2 separate regions of the Homo sapiens genome follow, and region 2 is linked to region 1. The links are contacts of gene promoters, found by promoter capture Hi-C in blood cells and fetal thymus (Javierre and others, 2016). All regions are on one chromosome and are shown on one strand. The core of a region is centred on a gene start or on the middle of the fragment in contact, and the rest is flanking DNA. Distances in the headings are between cores, read along the strand shown. Region 1 overlaps PRCD (photoreceptor disc component). Region 2 holds the start of SPHK1 (sphingosine kinase 1).

Region 1 (6,822 bases), core at 3,167-5,666:
TAAATGCCAACTGATTCCTTAGGTGGTCCTGCCCCTCAATATTGGGGTGAATTGATAGGGATGGGAGGAGGAGGAAGAGGAGAGTCAGAAACATGGGAAGGTCGTGCCCTTCAATCCTGACCCCAGTGCTTTCCTCTGTTTAGGGAGAAAGAACCTCTGAAGTAAGCCCTCACCTCTGCAGGTGGGGCTCAGGCCCAGAGACTGGGATCAGCTGGCTCAGGCAGGTAGGGCAGGGCTGGGAGCCGGGGAGGGCAGAGGGCAAGGCTTGGGACAGGCAGGAAGCAACAGGCAAGTCCCGGCCATGTGGGAGGATAGCAGGCAGTGTTCAGCTCTTGCCACTGATGGAGGTTCAAAGTAGGCGGATGGACTCATGCCTTTGGCTGCTACCTTGAGCCTGTTGTGGTCCGGGCCATGGGGCAAGGATGAGTTTGAAGAGAACCAGGTGTAGTTTGACCACATTTTCTAGGCTTGGGGATGGCGAGGTGGTCGTGCTGGGGCATGAGGGCAGTGTCGGAGGACGCCCAAGGGAGAGGCGGTGCTCGGAAACATCCACTCTGAAATGCGAGTCCCATCCCCAGGTGTGGGAGAAGTGCTGATCTGCTCTGGTTTTCTGTTTCAGCTCAGGTCCTGGTTCGTCCCCTAGCCCAGGAGGATGCTGTGGGAGCTGCAGCAGCGGCAAGAGGGAGAATGGGGGGAAGCAGCACTAGAGAAGGTAGACGCCTCCCTCTCAGCCCGGGACCTGCCAGTCTCCCCTTCCCCCAGGCCCTGGGTGTGGGCTCCTGAGCAGGACCTGGCTGGGCCTGGCAGAAAGAGCAGACGTGCTCGCTGCTCTCGGACGGGCTTCCTTCCCTCTGAGTTCCTGAGGCTCCTCTGAGGGACTGCTGAGCCTGAGAAAGCCTAGGATGAGGGACTTGCTGGGTCCACCAGGCTAATTCTGGGGCAGCCAGCAGCCCAGGCAAGAGGCAGGAATAAGTAAGGAGTGAGGAGACCCCAGAAGCAAGGGACGGCTGATAGCTCACATTTACTAAGCAAGGGCTTCCATTCATTCTGTAATTTAATCTTCAGTCACCCACAGAGCCTGGTAATGTTATTATCCACAATTTCTAAATGGGGAAACACAGAGACAGGTTAAATAATTTGCCCAACATCACCTAGCTAGGAAGTGGAGGCTCCCAGGCTCACACTGGAGCTGCAGAGCCCACGCTCCTACCCACCATGGCAGGCGGCCTCCCCCTGGAACCTAACAGTTTGCAGGGGTTGGGGGTGGTTTGCTGGCCTGGCCAACTGCCTGTCAGCCCAGGAGCTATTCTGTTAAGCCGCCACTTGTGGTCCGAGGTGCTGGTGTCGGTTTGCCACAGTGGCACTCGCTTTTGTGTCATTTGCCTTTCCCCAGTTCCCAGAGCTCATCCTGTCACTGGCTGCTCTGCTGAAATTATCAATAAGAAATGCCAGTTGGATCTGTGACATGTCTGCCTGCAGCTGGATGGGAGCAACGGACAGCTTGTCCTCCGAATGTGTTTTCTGTATGTGTGCAAGCGCGTGTGTTCCAAACGGGCAGTAGCGTGTGGGAAGGAAAAAGCCTGACACTTGTTTTTATCAATTTGCTGATGCTCAGTCCCGGCGGCTGCCTCCTTTGCCCCCAGCTGCTCTGCCATTTCTCTCTTTTCAATCCTGCATGATCCTGAGCAGAGATAAAAGCAGATTTCCGCTTCTGCTCCCAGATCCAGGAGCAGACCCTGCAGGCAGCTGCTCCTGATGTCTCACAGCTATTAGTCTTCAAAAACCCCCCGTGCCTCTGTGCACACGCGTCTCTCCTCCCCAGCCAGCCCCCCTCCCAGCCCAGCGGCGATGTCTCTGCCTGGCTGGCCCGTGCCCTTGACTTCCAGGCAGTAGAAGATGGAGTTCTCTAGACAGCAGCACTTCAGCCGCCACTCTGCCTCTGAAGGGAAGGAAGGGAAAGGGTGAGGGATGCCGCAGAGCAGAGGGAACCGCTGGGGAGGCGCTCAGGGTGGGGGAGGAGGTGCACCCCGCTGGGGAGGGCCTGCTGGTACCTCGGGGAGCCTGGCTGGGGTGTGTGCGAAGGCAGTTCTGTGGGAGCCTCTCAAAGTAGGGCAGGCAGGAGGCAGGGGGAAAGTCACACTAGGGAAGGAGCCTGCAGAGGCAAAGCCAGAGCGCCAGCCTGACCCAGGCCGTGAGCCCGTGATCGCCTGTCTCAGCTCCTGTCAGCCTGTCTCTCTCTTTGGAGGCATCGGCCTTCCTGGTGACAGGCCTGTCAGGCTGAGGGCCAGAGGGCACTGTTCCCGGGACCCAGTCTGTGTTCCCCGATCCTATCTGCATTTATTCTCTATTTGCCATGTTCCTGTCACCTCATCCTTGCTGCCATTTCCGAGTTGCTCATCTCCTTCCACTGGTCTGAGGAATTGTCAGGCCAAGGTCATGGAGCTGGCTCACGGCCCAGACGCACTTCCCCAGGGCAGCGCCCCTCCACGCCACTGTTCCGAGAACCTGCGCAGGAGGTGGTGGCTGCTCCAGGGATCCATCCAGAGGAAGGGCGGGAAAAAGAGAGGAAGGGGCTGCTGGCGGCCAGCGGGGCTGTGGCTGCCTGGGCTTGGAGGTTGCCTGGGCAGCTGGGGTGCCATGTGGGCCGGGTGGGGGGGCTGTCTCCCCCAGGGAGCAGGCTGGCTTTGGTGGGAGCAGATTGTGTTTACACCTTCCCCGCACACCCAGCCCACGCTCGCCTCTTATTCCCGGGGCCTCTCCCACCCCTGGGCTCTCTGCGCAGTCTGCACATTTGCAGCTCCTGCTGCAGAAAGTTACCTCTCTCAGCCTAGAGCTCCCCACAGAAGGCTCCTGGGACCCGGGTGCCCCTTCCTTGGCCCACTGGCTCCCATCACAGGGCTTAGTGTGAAGCTCAGGGCAAGGGTGGACCTTTAAATGGGGGAATTAAATCCTGACTATGACACTGTCCCCACTGAGGCTGAGTCCTTTTTCATCCCTTTCCTTGCAAAGAGCCGCTGCTTGGGAATGGGAGCAGGAGTGCTCAGGGGCTTGGGAGAGGGCAGATAAAGGGCAGCTAGAGAGGGAGAGCTGAGCCAAAGGGTGGGGTCCCTTCTGGTCTAGGGTGCTGGCTACTGTGAAATAACAAGAGTCCAAGAGCAAGGTGTCCAGAGTCAGAGCTCCTGGGTTTGAACCTTGTTCCACCAGCACATCCTACCTCTGTGGCCTGGGTAAGTTTCTGAACACCTCTGTGCCTCAGTTTCTTTAGCTGTAGGATGGAGATCCTACTGGTATCTGTCTCTTAGAGTTGTAAGGGTTGATTAGATAACGTGTGGAAGATGCTTAGCATGTTGGGTAAGTGTCCCATATATGTGAGCTGGCACAATCCGGTTTGAACTGTAAATTACTGAACAGTGGTAGATTCAGGACGGCTAGAGTTCCTCACATCCTCACTCTCTGGTCCTTCCTGCCGTCTCTCCACATACACAGAGCTGGGCGACCGGTAGTTCTGCAACAGATCAGAGGATGGCAGAGGGTGGCATTGCTGGGGTGGGGAAGCCCCCTGTAAGCCTGTACTGGAGAAGACCACCACTGCCTCTCTGTGCCCAGAACCATGTCCCAACCTCCAGTGGTGACCTCGACCTGGACAGCGCCACTCCCAGCTGGCTCTGCTTCCGGAATGAACCTCAGCTCCTTGACAAGACGGGAGGCGCTGCCCTGCTGTGGTACCTTCCTCCGTGTGAATGCTAATATCTCTGCTGGGGGAGCCTGAGTGACGGGGAAAGGCTGCTTGGAGCTGCAGGGCGGCTGAGGGCAGCAACCAGGAGCAGGGAGGTGCTGCTCCTGCAACTGAGGCTCAGAGCGGCTGCCAGTCTCTCCTGGAGACTGGAGCATGACCAGGGAACTAATGAGGCGGTGGGGGTGTGGTGGGAGCCAGGGAAGTAGCCACTGCAGCTGTGGCTGTCCACTGTCACCCTGGGGTGTAGATGTCACCTTGGGGAGTACCCACCCATTCCAAGTGTGCGGTTGTGTGTGTGTGTGGTTTGTGTGTGTGTGTGTGTGTGTGCGCGCAGTCCTGGGCAAGGGCAAACAGTACAGGTGGTGGGCCAAGACTAGATGGGTAGGGCACAGTGCCCACTATGAGACAGGCACAATGGCGAGAGAGCAAACCCTGCTGGTTCCTCAGGCTCCCGTAGCCTCTCTGTGGGGGGCCTCACTGTTAGGAAGAAGCCCAAGACCTAGAGCTAGAGGAAGATAATGCTTCTTTGTGAACCTCAGAAGAACAGTTTGGTTCGCACGGAAGCTTATGTTAACATAATGATGATACTAATCGTATGATTAATAACCACTAACATGCATTGGGCGCTTACTATGTGCTAGGCACTGTGCCAGCTGCTGTATTTTACGCACTGTTTCATTTATGCGGCAGGAACTGTTATCATTTATCCAATAAGGAAAGTGAGGTTCACAGAACTTGCTCAAGGTCACTCATAGCTGGCAGTGAAGCCAGGACCTGAGCCTGGGAAATCTGACACCAAAGCTTGGGATAGAGGGGGCCCAAGTCTCGAGTTGGGGGCCGTGAGGAAATTTTGATTGTGACCTGTCTACAAGGCACAAGGAATGGAGCTGTGGTCCCGCCCAGCCTGCCTTTGCAAGTGGGCTGGTGTTGGCCAGGGTCATTGCCACCAATCTGTCTTCAGGAACTCACATTCAAGGGCAGACCAGACTCTAGGCCCTGAGAGGCTGGTTCTTGCCTGCCAGGTGAGGGGGAGAGGAGAGCTGCCCCTTTAGGACCCCTCAGTCTTCCTCAGGAAGGATGTGGTGGCCTCTGGCAGGGATGACAGACAGCGAGGTCATCACCCACAGTCACTGCAACTGCCACTCTGTTGCCTCCTTCAGCCAGGGGCAGGGCCCTGGGGAGAGGACAGGATGGCAGCCAGCAGCCCAGCTGGAGATGCGGAGCCTGGTGAGGAAGGTTGTTTTGATTTGTTTTTGCAGGGGGAGGGTGCAGGCCATGGAGACCAAGGAGGTGGCTTTCAGGGGGATCCGCTGACAGTGGGAAGCCAGTCCTTGTGCCTAAGGAGCACAGACCCTCTCTGTGTGACACATGTGCCCCCTAGTGGGGATGATGACTGTAGTGGGGGACTGAGAAAATTTTTAAAAATTTACTAACAGACTCAGCCTGTGCACCTGGGGAGGAGAGGCCAATCCTGTCCCTATGTGAACACACACACATTCACACACACACACACACACATATTCACACACAGAGACACCCACATTCACACACACAGACACACACACACAGAGACACATACATTCACACACACACATACACAAACACAGTCATATACCTATACAAACATATAATACACACACAGACATACACACATTCACAGAGACACACATTCACACACACACACACAACACACATTCACACACACACAGACATACACATATACATATTCACACACATACACATACACACAGACACACATAACACATTCACACACACATACACATATACAAACATATTCACACACATATACACACACATACACATAAACATACACATACATACACATTCACACACACATTCACACATACACATGCATACACAGACATACACATATACGAACATTCACACACATACACACAGACATACATGTACACACACAAATAAAACAGACACACAGAAACACACACACATAATCACAGATACACATGCATACACAGACATACACATTCACACATACACACACACATATACACCGACACATACACATTTACACACATACAGACATATACACTTATAGACACACATAGCATACACATACACACAGTCACACACACAGATACACATAAACATACATACACACAGAGAGACATACACATACACAAATACACACAGTATCATATGCAGAGGCAGAAGCCATTTGAACTAAGCATTAAAATAAATTAATGTGTTCATTTGGTCATTTATTTAACAAGCGTGTCCTGGGAACCTGCAATGTACAAACCCTGTATCAGGTGTCAGGAGTGACACTCGAGGAGAGACAGACCCTGCCCTGCTGGTTGGTCCTATAGGAAGGCCCCAGCCTCGGTGGCCTAGTTCTGCCAGCCCAACCCTGCCTGTCCCTGTGACCTTTAGTTCTCTGGACCTCGGTTTCCTCATTTGATAAACATTTGTCAAGCCCAGGTGGGCTGGAGTGAGGACGCAGAGGACTAATGATCTCCTCAGGAAAAGAACAGTTTAGTAAAATGAAGGGGATGGACCAGAAGCTCTCTGGGGGCCCCACCGACTTTCCCAATCGAAAGCAACTGTAATGAACTGTGTCTGGAGTGCTGTGTGCCAGGCACTGTGGATCCAGAAACGGATTAAGACCTTCTGCCACAAACAACCAGAAAACTGGGCAAGATATAAGCAGCAGACACTTGACAACAGGCAGCACACAGGACAGTGACCCCATGACTGCCTCAGCTTCTGCCTGGAGACAGTTCCCTGACTGTGCCTTGGGGAGGGGAAACCCAAGCGGACCACAGTGGCTTTGCTAAGGTGAGGAGGAGACAGAATCAGAGGTCAAGACAGTGTGAGATTCATAAGGATATACACACAGATCAATGGAATCCAAAAACAGATGCAGAAAGGCAATCCAATGGAGAAAGAAAGGTCCTTTCAACAGGATACAAAAAGCACTAACCAGAAAAGAAAAATCAATACACTGGACTTTATCAAAATTAAACCTCTGCTCTTGGAAAGACTAGGAGTAAATATTTGCCAAACAAAAATCTGAGAAAGGACTTGTATCCGGAATACATAAAGAA
Region 2 (6,822 bases), core at 4,323-6,822, 160 kb before region 1:
TTTGAGACCAGCCTGGGCAACATAGGGAGACCACATCTCTACAAAAAATAAAAAAACAAAATTGGCTGGGCTTGGTGGCATGCACCTGTAGTCTCAGCTACTAAAGGGGATGGAGGTGGGAGGATCACTTGAGCCCAGGAGGTCGAGGCTGCAGTGAGCTGTGACTGTGCCACTGCACTCCAGCTTGGGTGACGATGTAAGACCCTGTTTCAAAAAAAAAAATAAATAAAACATGAAACACTGATTCACACTAGGGCCCTAATAACTCACTGGTTTTCCCTCCGAGTCATCTGTAGCAGAAAAAGAACAGGCCCACGGGCCCTACGGAAAAAGTTCCAACTCTTTCCCAGGGAGAGGGCCCTCTGAAGGTGAAGGCAGAGACGGGGACGACGCAGCAGCAAGACACGGATGACCAAAGGCTGTCGGCAAACCACCAGGACACAGGCCTGGGACAGAGTCACAGCCTCAGAAGGAACCAACCCTGCCAACACCGTGATCGTAGACTTCCCAACCTCCAAAACTGTGAGACAGTCAATTTCTGTTGTCTACGCCACCAGGACACTAATACAAATGCCTATAGATGCTGGGCAGGCAGCTGAGACAAATGGAGTGGGTAGGGCTGCAGCTCGCCACCTTGAGAGGGCTCTGAAGAGAATCACCCTGAATTGCAGCCACAGTCAGCAGCCTGGAGGTGAGGGCATGTGACAGGCAGAGCCCAGAGGCCCAGAAGAGACCTGGGTCCCCAGCCTCAGCAAGGACGACAAGGACAAGGAGACCACCCAAGGGATAGAGCTAGGGTCACCCCACCATACACTCATCATAGTCAAACCACTGGGGAGAATCAGAAACTCGGGCAAAGCACACACTCCCTGCAAGCAGCCAAGAATCTCGCATGACCAGTCTGGTCCTCTGGATCTCCACATGTGGCCACGTGTGGCGCGTGGCATCCCCTCCACCCCAATGCCTGGTATGGTCGACCTGGAAATGACATCTAGGAAACTGAGAATGGAAAGCCATGTGGGGGCAGCGCTAAGCTTTTTTTTTTCTTTTTCTTTTTTTGAGACGGAGTCTTGCTCTGTTGCCCAGGCTGGAGTACAGTGGTGCAATCTCGGCTCGCTCTTGGGTTCAAGCAGTTCTCCTGTCTCAGCCTCCTGAGCAGCTGGGACTACAGGCACCTGCCACCGCGTCCGACGAATTTTTGTATTTTTAGTAGAGATGGGGTTTCATCATCTTGGCCAGGCTGGTCTCAAATTCCTGACCTCGTGATCCACCCGCCTCAGCCTCCCAAAGTGCTGGGATTACGGGCGTGAGCCACTGCGCCCAACCAGCCCTAAGCTTTTTTTTTTTTTTTTGAGACATAGTCTTGCTCTGTCCCCAGGCAGGAGTGCAGTGGCACCATCTCAGCTCACTGCAACCTTCGCCTCCCGGGTCCAAGCGATTCTCCTGCCTCAGCCTCCCAAGTAGCTAGGATTACAGGCATGCACCACAACACCCAGCTAATTTTTGTATTTTCAGTAGAGACGGGGGTTTCACCATGTTGGCCAGGATGGTCTCAAATCTCCTGACCTCATGATCACCCGCCTTGGCCTCCCAAAGTGCTGGGATTACAGATGTGAGCCACCGTGCCCGGCCCCTAAGCTCAAAGAGCTTGTGAGATAGAACCTCCCCCTTCCCCGGTCCTTGCAACCCCCTAGGCAGTAAAGTACCATAAAAAGGGAAAAACCGGAGTGGTGGCTCATGCCTATAACCCCAGCACTTTGGGAGGCCGAGGCAGGCGGATCACTTGAGGTCAGGAGTTTGAGACCAGCTTGGCCAACATGTGAAACACAAACTCTACTAAAAATACAAAAATTAGCTAGGTGCAGTGGCTCACACTTGTAATCACAGCTATTCGGGAGGCTGAGGCAAGAGTATTGCTTGAAACCGGGAGGCAGAGGTTGCAGTGAGCCAAGATCGCGCCACTGCACTCCAGCCTCAGCCTGGGCAACAGAGCGAGACTCTGTCTCAAAAAAAAAAAAAGGGAAAGAAGTTGAGGTCAAGGAAGACCTTGAGGCTATGCAATTAGGGAGCTGAAATCTCCTAGGGAAGGTAGCTTCAGGGAAGGGTGAGATGGCAGGAATCCTCTCCTCATAAAAGCAAGTAATTTGCCATCTGGCAGCCTTGACTCCAAGTTTCTGGAGAGCTGGGACCAGGCCAGGTGAATGCCTGCTTTCTTTCTCGGGAAAAGAAAAAAGGGGGTTCTCAGGTGTGTCTCCCTGGGGAGGCTGCCCACAAGGAAGGGGAGGCTGGGGAAGTTAGAAAAAGTCTCCCACCTGTGAAGCAGATTACCTGCAAGCCAAGCTCTGGGTTGGTGATCAAATCAGACCTCTCTGCCGGCCCAGGCCTGTTCCCAGGCCCACGGTGGGCCTTGCTGAGCACAGCGGCTGCTCAGCTGTTTCCAGACTCAGGATGAAGCCTGGGGAGGGCTTGGAGCTGCTTCCTCTTTCTTTTTTTTTTTGAGATGGAGTTTCGCCCTGTCACCCAGGCTGGAGTGCAATGGGACGATCTCAGCTCACCACAACCTCTGCCTCCTGGGTGCAAGCAATTCTCCTGCCTCAGCCTCCCAAGTAGCTGGGACTACAGGTATGCGCCACCACACCCGGTGTAGAGACGGGGTTTGAGACGGGTTTCTCCACGTTGGTCAGGCTGGTCTCCAACCCCCGATCTCAGGTGATCCACCCACGTCGGCCTCCCAAAGTGCTAGGATTACAGGAGTGAGCCACTGCGCCCGGCCTGCTGCTTCCTCCTCCTCAGGGAGACGCCACAGCTCTGCGGCAAGCAATCCACCAGGCACCAGATCCCCAGATACCTGCCCTTCAGGGAGAAATAGCCTGGGATACAGAGAGGCCCAGAGGGGAGCTCTGGCTGGACTTGGCTTCTCAGCGTGGGGTCTGGGTTCACAGGTTTGCTTCTCTGCTTTGTGGGGAACTGGTTGGAGGCTTGTGCAAGCCTCTTCACCTCTCAGGGTTTCAGGCCCCCCCAACTCCTTCCCGCCTTGTCCTTTTTTCTTTTTTAAAAAAGGAAGTAAAGTACAGTGGGAAACGGGCCAAGCTGGCAGCTTGAGAGATCCAAGTGCCCGCCCCCCGACCCGCAACCGTGGGAAGGGGAACCATCTTGCTCTTGGCCAATCCTGCCTCTCTGAGCAGGGATGCAGCTGGGGGAGTTTCTGGAGATAGGATCAAATTCTTTAGAAAGGGAGAAGGGGAAAGGGGTCTGGAGAAAGGCAGCCTGGGTTGGGGGAAGTGAATGACAAGAATGAGGGGGGCAAAGGCCTTGGAGGTGAGGGGGGCAGGGGGTTAGGCGCCAGGGAGGACAGAGGACCCATTGTGCGGCCTGGAACCGGGGCCAGAGGGCTTTGCCCTTCGCCTCCCTCCCGCGGGGCCTTCCAGAGCCAGGAGGGGAGCTGGGGCCCGGAGGCGTTGGATAAAGAGCCCGTGCCCCGCCTCCCCTTGCCAACTCAGTTTGCAGTCAACCCCGCCCCCGCCCGCTCCGCGGACTCAAGGCTGGTGGTAGTGGGCCTGGAGGCGCAGGATCCGACCTTTCTGGGGCCCCAGGAGGAAAAAAAAAGGGGGGACCCTGAACCAGGTGGGCTTTATCACCACGAACTCACAGTGCTTCCCTGTGCCTCAGTTTCCCCTCTTCAGACTCTATGGCTAATGACAGAGCTTTTCAGATTTGGTGGAAATGCTCTCCGGGGCGGGGAGCAGACGGGGAAGGCTGCCCCAGCTAATCTCCGCAGCCAGTACCCTCGAAGGCTGAGATCTCGGGGAGCACAGCCTCCGATTCGCGTTTTCTAGGCACCAAAGTCCCTCGCTGGAGGAAGAGGAGGGGAAGAAGGCAGAGGAGAGGGGAGGGGCGGACGGATCTGGTCCTGGGCTCCCGCGCGGAGCCCCCTCCTCCCACAGCCGCCGCTCGCGTCCCCGCAGCGCATGACCGCGGCACTGCGGCTGCAGGGCTCTCTCCCCCGCCCGCGCCGGATTCCTGGAGCAAGGGGGTGGGGGGCTCGGAGGTGCAGGACCCATCATTCCGACACGCGCCGCGACGCCAGGAGTCGGGGATGACGCCCCTGCTCCCTCCCCTCGTTCCTGTTTCTCGGAGTTTTTCGACCCCTGAGCGCGTCGCTGAGTCACCTTCCCGGAACGCGCTCGGGACGCTCTGGACCCAGCGGGGACTGCCCGGGGGCCGCGCAAGGCGAAGGCGCACCCGCCGATACGCGCGCGGAGCTGCGGCCCCAGGGACCCCGCGTCCCAGCCAGTGCCCCCCGACCCGCCCGGGGACTCTCGGGTCCCGCCCGTCTGACCCCCCAAGTGTTGGGAAACGGGGCCGAGCTGCCTGGGTCCTCCGGAAGAGAAGACACCGCGGAGGCGTGCCGGAGTTCAGGGCGCCGCCCGGCTAATTGGCTGCGTGCTCCTCCTGGACCTGCCTCTTCTCGACTTTAAGAAGCGATGAGAGAGGTGTGTGGGGGCGGGTGGGGCCGGCGGGGGCGCGCGAGCCCCGCAGCCTCCCGCAGGGGCTTGGTTTCTCCTAACTCTGGCCCTACCTGGGCAGGTCACCAATGGGCCTTGGCAACTTCTTCCTCCGTCTCCGCCGTAACCCCCCAGGGATCTAACTCGAGGTGCTCGCGGACACGTTCTGTGGCTTGCCGCGATAAGTGTATCACAAACACACTGACAAACGCGTCCCTACTGGCCTCCAAAGAAGTGACAACTTCTGAGCGCGTTTCCGGCGCCCCTTCTTCACGCTGAGCCAGAGGGGGCGGGGGGCACGTACCACATGCTTGGCTTTCCAATCCCGACGGGGGCCCCCAGGCCCATCTACACTGTCAAGCCTCCTCTCCGGCTCGGAGCCCCCGGCCTGTCGCCTGCTCTACCCGGGACAGCGCGCTAGGCGGCCTCAGGCTCGGTAGCCCAGCTGCAGCGTCGGGAAGTTAAAAATAACCTCCGTGGGAGCGCGGGGGAGGAAGAAAGAGGGAAGCTGGTGGGCGGCGGGCGAGACGCCCCGGCCTGGAGAGGCGCCCCGGGTGGCGTGCGGGCCTCGAATTTCGGGTGGGCTAGGGCAGAGCGCGCAAAAGGGGCGCTGCATCCCGGCGCCGACAGCACCCGCGGGGGCGAGGTCGTGGCGTCGAGGTGAAACCAAGGGTCCCCCGGGAGAGCGGAGCCGCGCGCGCCCGGCGCTCGCTCCGACACGAGTTCGCGCGGAGCCCGCGCCTCCGTCTGCGCTGCGCGGTCGCTTTCGCGCGCCCCAGACACTGCGCTCGCGGCCGGGCCCGGGACTCCGCGCCTCGCGGCCTGCCGCCTCAGCTCACCCGGCCAGGTCGCGGCGCCGCCTTCTAGCCAGACGCCTAGGACGAGCGGCGGGGGCGCGCTTGCCGCTTCCTAGGACCCGGGCGGGAACCAGCTCGTGGCCCGGCCGTGGGCGCGGGCCGTGCCGGAGGCGGCGCGCTGAGGCCGGAGGCGGGCAGAGGCCGAGGCCGCGCCGGGCTCAGGTTCCACCCCCGGGAGCGCGGGGCGGAGCCAGGCCGGCGCCGAGGCTCAGTGCCCTCCCCGCTCCGCGGCGCCGGCTGCGAAGTTGAGCGAAAAGTTTGAGGCCGGAGGGAGCGAGGCCGGGGAGTCCGCTCCAGCGGGGCGCTCCAGTCCCTCAGACGTGGGCTGAGCTTGGGACGAGCTGCGTTCCGCCCCAGGCCACTGTAGGGAACGGCGGTGGCGCCTCCCCAGCAAACCGGACCGACTGGGTAGGGCCGCCCACCCTGCCTTCGCGCCGCTCGTGGCTCCTGTGCGGCCCGCCCTCGCGGGGCCCCGGGAACTGGGCCACTTGTCGCTTGGGCGAGAGCAGGCGGCAGCTGGTGGCCCGGTTCGGGCTTGGCTTTGGCGCGACCCGGGAGCGGCTCCCACGAGCGCCGCGCGCGTCGCAACGGAGCGGGGCCCTGAGAAGCGCGCGCCGCGGCTCCCACCGCTCTGGAGCTCCGGGCAGGGGACACGGCAACCTGGATGGCTGGGGCAGGGATCCTCTCCCAGAACTTCGTGCCCAGCAATGTCCGCTCAAGTTCTGGGATTTTTACGCAGCTGGACTCCCCTCCCCCTGGCAGCCCCGAGGGGTGAGGAGCTAGTCCGTCGGAGGGAGCCACGGGGCTCTGACTCATCCGTCGGGCCGGAACCGAACCCCAAGCCCCAGGGAGAAAGCCCCGGAGCAGGCGCCCTTCTCAGGGATTGTAGGCTTAGTCACACGGCGGGGGCGCCCTCGGAGGCACCGGACCTCAGCTCTCTGGACTTCCCGGGAACCTGGCTCCCCGCGCGTGGTCCCGGGATTTAGTCGGGCGCTCCCCACCTCTGGCAGCTGCGGCCCCGGACTCCGCCAGCGCTGTCTTCTCTCCCTCAGGTCCAGCCGCCGCAGGGAATGACGCCGGTGCTCCTGCAGCCACGGCTCCGGGCGGGGAAGGCGAGCCCCACAGCCGGCCCTGCGACGCCCGCCTGGGCAGCACCGATAAGGAGCTGAAGGCAGGAGCCGCCGCCACGGGCAGCGCCCCCACAGCGCCAGGGACCCCCTGGCAGCGGGAGCCGCGGGTCGAGGTTATGGATCCAGGTTTGTGGGGTTCCTGCTGGGAAGGGCTGTAGGGGGATTCCTGTTCCTCGCCAGGAATGATGGAACGCCCAGCTGGACGAAAGGGGCTGTGGACGATCGGGAGAAACATTATCCCTCACGAGGCCAGAAGCCGGCCGAATCTGAGCCAAGGAAGGGGGTGGCAGGGGCGCCGCGTCCCCACCCCAGGTCTCCCAGCAAAGGCCG

What was found. Contacts are between HindIII fragments. The CHiCAGO score rates a contact against its expected background, and 5 or more counts as called.
Region 2: the fragment with the promoter of SPHK1 here is called in contact with a fragment that was not itself captured in region 1 in 1 of 17 cell types (naive B cells); the score reaches 5.1 in naive B cells.

What each region holds. Positions count from the first base shown.
Region 1 is chr17:76,542,410-76,549,231 of GRCh38, forward strand. It overlaps PRCD (photoreceptor disc component), which reads left to right. Exons shown (of 5, transcript NM_001077620.3): 3 at 144-224; 4 at 620-712; 5 at 1,394-2,967. The coding sequence ends at 165. It also overlaps a transcript of CYGB not described here. Among named protein-coding and RNA genes, the nearest start is that of PRCD, 5.8 kb to the left of the region's middle. RefSeq lists an enhancer at 4,901-5,404. The HindIII fragment of the contact is 237 bases long and covers 4,299-4,535 here.
Region 2 is chr17:76,379,037-76,385,858 of GRCh38, forward strand. SPHK1 (sphingosine kinase 1) reads left to right here and starts at 5,573. Exons shown (of 6, transcript NM_001142601.2): 1 at 5,573-5,770; 2 at 6,415-6,618. The coding sequence starts at 6,609. RefSeq lists silencers at 4,211-4,500, 4,521-4,660, 5,241-5,940. The HindIII fragment of the contact is 9,575 bases long and covers 1,334-6,822 here.